Linked DNA regions of Homo sapiens: region 1 is linked to region 2. Evidence: promoter capture Hi-C in 16 types of primary human blood cells and fetal thymus (Javierre and others, 2016). All regions are on one chromosome and are shown on one strand. The core of a region is centred on a gene start or on the middle of the fragment in contact, and the rest is flanking DNA. Distances in the headings are between cores, read along the strand shown. Region 1 overlaps THSD4 (thrombospondin type 1 domain containing 4). Region 2 holds the start of CT62 (cancer/testis associated 62).

The links. The method cuts DNA at HindIII sites, captures the fragments that hold promoters and counts their contacts. A CHiCAGO score of 5 or more calls a contact.
Region 1: a contact is called between a fragment that was not itself captured here and the fragment with the promoter of CT62 in region 2, in 1 of 17 cell types (endothelial precursors). The highest score is 7.7, in endothelial precursors.

What each region holds. Positions count from the first base shown.
Region 1 is chr15:71,347,222-71,350,280 of GRCh38, reverse strand. The region is part of intron 6 of THSD4 (thrombospondin type 1 domain containing 4); the gene reads right to left. Among named protein-coding and RNA genes, the nearest start is that of THSD4-AS1, 160 kb to the right of the region's middle. The HindIII fragment of the contact is 4,102 bases long and covers 1-3,059 here.
Region 2 is chr15:71,114,095-71,116,902 of GRCh38, reverse strand. CT62 (cancer/testis associated 62) reads left to right here and starts at 1,399. Exons shown (of 4, transcript NR_168260.1): 1 at 1,399-1,979. It overlaps THSD4 (thrombospondin type 1 domain containing 4), which reads right to left and starts at 1,432. Exons shown (of 18, transcript NM_024817.3): 1 at 1,205-1,432. RefSeq lists silencers at 1,039-1,128, 1,279-1,418, 1,449-1,508, 1,355-1,532, 1,569-1,618. The HindIII fragment of the contact is 2,227 bases long and covers 282-2,508 here.

The DNA of each region.
Region 1 (3,059 bases), core at 408-2,907, 230 kb before region 2:
AAGCATAACTTTGAGATATTTTTAGTGAGTAAATGTGGTCAAACTCAAGGACAAAGCTGAGTTCAACTTAATGAAGTTTACATTAATATATCCCACCTTGTTTTTGGCATCAATGTTCATTTTTTTTTTTTTTTTTTTTAGTAATTTGCAGTTTATATAATTATTATAAGGCTGGAAATCTATCTCCCCAGCTGGGCAAGGATACACTATAAATGTGCTAGAATAAAATATAGATGGAGATTTAATTATCATGCTACTCATGCTTTTTAAATAACGGCATGTCAGCACTTCCATAAACCGATTTGCATTACGTTAAAATTAATGGACTGGAAACCTTTGCTTCTGCTGAAATGGACCATCCCCGTCTTTCCCTTTCGCCCTCCACCTCCTTCCTGAGACCAGCTGTGTTTCAGCTCCCCCTTCCCTGGGCCCACACTGAATCTCTGTTACCCTTACAAACCCCTGCTGCCTCTAAGAGTAAGGACCCCTATCCCATCCCAAACTCAAACCTAAGCACATGCAGCCTCATCCCATTTCTCCAAAACATGTGAAAGCAAAAGAAAATCAAAAACTAACTCAGCAATCTTGTTCTTCCTACAGTGGTCTTTGGCTACTGCTGGGTGTGGCCCACTTTTAACCTGTGAGAGTGCCATCCAGTGAAGAGACAATGGGAATGCTACCTCCCAGAGGTGAGCCCAGCAGGGAAAATACAGGCTTCTCAAGGCTAAGGGCAGGTGCTCTGGGGTCAGGGGTCACTGACAGGTGCTACGTAGACAGAAAGGTGATGCAAACGGCCAGTGGCCACACCTTCAAGACATGTTGATAGGGGCAGGGGGAGATGGACAGGCATGTGGAGAAGTGAACAGGCTCGTGTCATCTTTGTTTTCTACATTGTGCAAATGTACGCATGTGAATGAAGAAGGAATGAATTAAGCAAAGAAGTAATTAATACTAAAGAGAAAAAAATAAGAAAGGGAAACAACAATTTTAGGTGCTTTTCTGGGCTGGCCACTTCTGTATCCAATTTACATTTTGTATACAACATATCTACTTTAATCCCTGTAACTCAGAGTAGCCTTGTTTTTAATTAGAATACTGAAGGTCAGAGAAGTTAAGAAATTGCCTATGATCTCACTGCTAACAATTGAAATGGGATTTGAAGCTGGGTCAGCTTGCTCCTGTCCTGGTTTTCCTACCACTCCACGTGGCAAAATGTTGGCAGATGGCATGGACTTGTGAACACAGATAGGAAGGATGGCCCAGAAAAAGAGAATTTATGTCTGAAATACAGAATGGATTACTATAGAGATTACAATACAAGAGGTAACTTCAAAGGAGAGTAGATTTCATAACAAAAATGCAAGAACCTGCATATCCAAATGAGACCACTGCTTCCCTTTACCAGGGTTCCTCTGGAGGCTTGGCACTTACTCCAAAGATGCTGCTGTCTCAAAACATTTATGTAACTCCTTGTTGGAATGCAGTTACACAGCAAGTGACACATTCCTTTTAAATAGCTCATCCTTTAGCAGGTAAATTTGGTTTTTGCTAACAGTCGTATCCTTTGGGACCAAATCTGGAGCAACAATTTGTATTGGGAAGCATAAGTTTTAATCAAAGGCTACAACAGCCATTAGATTAGGTGTGACTATAAAACAGAGAGTTGTCCCTTCTTTAGCTCAATCGGGCTCTGAACACAACTAAGAGCTAAGCTCTGAGCTGTTTTCTGGAGTGGTGGCATTGCCAGAGCACAGACTCGCAAGGTATCTCTGTTGAAAACCAACACTCACCTGGATGTACAGGTCATGGTGAGCAGGTGTTCTGAGGGAAGACAAAGGAAAAGCAGAGGGAGTGTTGACAATTCTGAGCTTCCATATGGCAGACATTCGGGGCCTGTTGGCATGGTCCTCAGAGCAGCAACAACAGCATCAATTGAGGTTCATTAAAATGCAGAATCGCAGGTTCATGTGGACCTACTGAATCAGAACCTGCATTCTAACAACAGTTTTCAGTGGTTCTTCCGCACATTAAAGTTTGAAAAGCACTGGTCTGGAGGAGGAGGCTCTACAAAAGGGTTGGGTATTGAGGAGCCGAAAAGACAACCTGGAACTGAGATTCCCAGGGATGACCTGAAAACAAGCATTTCAAAAGCTCAGAAAAGCAAGATTTTAACTACTCTCATTTTATATTATCGCAACTACATGTCCAAGATTTTACAAAATAGTCTCAGTTTCAAACACTCTGTTCCCTTTGCAGATCATGTATTATGGATGGTCTGGGGCAACAGGGATAGACCCATGGGTATTGGGAATGAGTATGCAGAGGGTAAGATTACTGAAATTGTTATTATGTGGGTATGGAGACGGGCTAGTTAGCATGAAGGACTGCTGAGTGTTTGGGTGGTCCGGCTGATCATCTGAACACTGAAAAATTAAGTTGAAGTCAGAGAAGGATCAATGTTAAGTTAGGAGAACAAGAGAACTTTCTGTGATGATGGAAATGTTCTATATCTACACTGTCCAACATGGTAGCCACTAGTCATATGCGGCTATTCAGCACTAAAAACACAGCTAGCACAAGTGAGAAACTGAATTTTAAATTTTGATATGGGACTACTGGCTAGCACATTGGACTGCACAGGTATATAAAAACCCCATGGCAGCCCCTGTACCTGCAAGTCTAAAGAGGACCAGGAGGATCCCCGCCAAAAGAAGGGTAATCGATGGGACACCAAAGTTATCAGTCAAGTAAGGCAGAAATGCTTGAATGAATAAATGTATATAGATAGAAAGTAGAGACCTTGATAAAGTCAAACTCCTTGCCTTTACAAGTGTGTGTTCAGCAGCCATGCAAGGGAGATGTCCATCTGGCAGTGGCCCAGGGCAAGGTGTCAGAGCCCTAGTGGCAGGGAGATGGCATCCACATATGAGGGAGGGTGACATGGTGCTAACTGGGCATCTACATAGGGCAGGGGGACAGTGGTGATGTGAAATTGATTACATTCAGGGTGACGGAGTACACAGTAAAAATATAAAAGATAATGGAACCTAGATTTCTCA
Region 2 (2,808 bases), core at 150-2,649:
TCACATTTTTAAAATGTTTGCTTCTTTGTATATTGAGACCCAGTAAGACCCTAGTAAGCCCAGTTACTCCATCACCTCCAACAATATTAATCAAGTAGAAGACACGCGGATTTTAAAAGCTGTGTGATCCTTGAAAAATCTTCAGACTGTCAGGGGTCCTGGGTGCCTCCAACTGTGAAAGGAGGGTTGGACAAGGCGATTCCTTAGATCTCTCTCGGGTATCTATTTCTCTAATTCCAAATTCCAACAGGCATCCAATGATTGCTACCCACGTCCAAGCTTTAGACTCATAGCCCGAAAAGGGCGAAGCGCAGCGTGGTAGAGATCGCAAAGGAGACAGGAAGAGAAGCAAGCATGCACTTTTAGTAAGACGGCAAAGGAGGCTGGGAGGTACGGTGCTGGGTGCGGACTGCTTAAAAAACTTACTAGACCACAAATTCCAGATACTTAGGTGGGCCCGAGAACGCCCTAAAATCCCCTTCCCAAGTGAGGGCTGATGTTATTTCAAATAAAAAGAAAACTTAACTTCCAGATCTGTAGAGCTCCAAGGTGAGCTCGCTGTGCAAAAGCTACTTCTGTAAGTGCGCCAAGGGGCCGCAGGTACTTAGGCTGCACTTGAGGAAGTGTCCAGAGTTGGCGGAAACAACCCATCCACTCGGGCTCCAGGCGCTCGCTGGGTTGCAGCAACTAAACTGAGACAGACAGACACACAGATCCGAGGCCCCAGGCCAGGACTCAAGGAGCGCTGACCGAGACTTGCCCGGCTCTCGGGCCCCAGGCGGGAGGGAGGCGAGGCTGAGGTGGGGGGCGCACGGGCTGGGTGTGCACTCGCCGGTCCCCTCCGACCCGACCCGGGGAGCACGGGGCCCCGACCCGGGGACGACTGAGGTGGATTGTCCCTAGAGTTTAAGACTGTCCCTAGAGTCGAGGGTGGAGGGATGAGCGCCGGCGCCAGCACAGAGCAAGACTCCCAGCAAGGAAGAGAACCAGAGAAGGAGGCGCAGCCGTCCGCACGGACCAGGCGCGCGCTGGCTCCCCGAGCCCGGAGCGGCGCAGCCCGCGGCGCCCCGGACACACCCACTGGGTAGCCCGCGCCAGCCCGCCCCGCCGGCCAGAGAGCGGGAGCCGGAGCCTGGGCAGCGGAAGCCGGGTCGGGGCCGCGCGGGCGGCGCGCAGGGGACGCGGGGCGCGCGGCTCTGCTCACCTGGCGGTCCGCGTCCCGGAGCGACCGGCGGCCGCCTCGCCTCGCCTCGCCCCCGCGTGGTTCCCGGCGCCGGGCAGCCCCGAGCGCCGCCGCATGGACGGCCGCCACCGCCGCCCAGCCGCCCCGCGCCCGCCCTGCACGGGCTCCCGCTGTGCCCCGATTCCGCGTCGGGCTGCGCGGGCGGCCAGCGGTTCAGGCGCGCGCGGAGAGCTCTGGCTCAGAGTTTGCGATCCGAGAGCGGGATCCGCGCTCCCTCGGTCCTTCCTCCCTCCCCTCTTGCGGCCTCCCGCTGTCATCTGGAGCCGCTCCTGCCGCCCCCTGGCGGCGACCGCGGGAAGGGCCGGCCCCCATCCGCACCCCTGACCCCGGAGGTCAACAACGGGATGGTCCCTGGGTCCCAGGGGAAGAGACATCACCCAGTAGGAGGGAGTACGGTCTAGACAGAGGCCACGAGGGCGGGAGGGGGCGAGAGTGGAGAGTGGCCCAGCTGGCCAGGGTCGTCTAAGTGAGAGGAAAAGGGAGAGGGCGGTTGAGACCAGGCCCTGAATTCCGCGTTCATCTTATCCTGAGGTCTGTGGGGACCTGTTGAAGGACTGGGGCAGGGGACGGACGCGGGCATCCTTCCATTTGGAACAGCCATTCCGGCAGCATCAGGATGGGGCGGAGGCAAAGCGGGGAGTGGGCGAGGCAAGTGGTGCTGTAAACCTGTGCGAGAAGGGGGCGGTGACTCTAAGGGCAGGAAGGAGCCCTGGTCACACACACACTCCCACGCAAGGTAGGACGCGCTGGGCTCCTTCTGAGGCCAAGGGGAAAGGACAAGAGCCCTCCAAATTCCAACGGGGGTTAGACAGCATGGGGAGGAGACACACACACCCTGACGGCCAGAGCCGTTCGGGATTCTTTCTTGTCTTATTCAGAGTAATATTTTGTTGGGGAAAAAAAAGCCTGCTGCAAAAAAATAATAATTCTTCTCATTAGTAATGATAAAAATCAAACTTTGATCCCTTCATTTTACGAATTGGGAAATTATTGCCCCCAAAAGGGCATGACCAAAGTGACGCGTTTAGTTAATGGAGGGAAAATTGCTAGGGCCCCGTTTCTTGAGTCCTAATTCAGAGCCAAATTCTTTACATTCGAGCCAAGGTGTTCAGAGCTGGGAAGGCAGGAAATAGAGTGACTGTGAGGAACTGTCTCTTCTTTCCCCAGAGCAGGGAGGGGGTGACAAATATTTGAAGAGGCTGTCCAGATACAGGCGTTTCCCTAAATTTCAGTCAGCCTGTTTGTTTATCGCTGCCTCTAAAGCTTGCCTGCAGGGGTTGTTTTGAAAGTGCAGGTATACCGAGAGGACAATGAAGGAGGTGGCAGAATGCAAGCTCCCTGCCCCAGAGCCAGGCAGCACCAGGGCTGGGTGCAGAGCGCTTCGTGGGAGCAGAAGGGAGCTCCCAGGGAAGATTGTCCTCCAGAAAAAAAAAAAAATTAACAAAAGGGAAAGAGGCTACTCAAGAGATTAGGCCAAAGAAAGAAACACCATTTTGAGCACCGACTACTGGCCCGGAGCCTGGCAGAGCCAGTTCTGATTGATTCAAGAGCTGGTTCCAATGGGA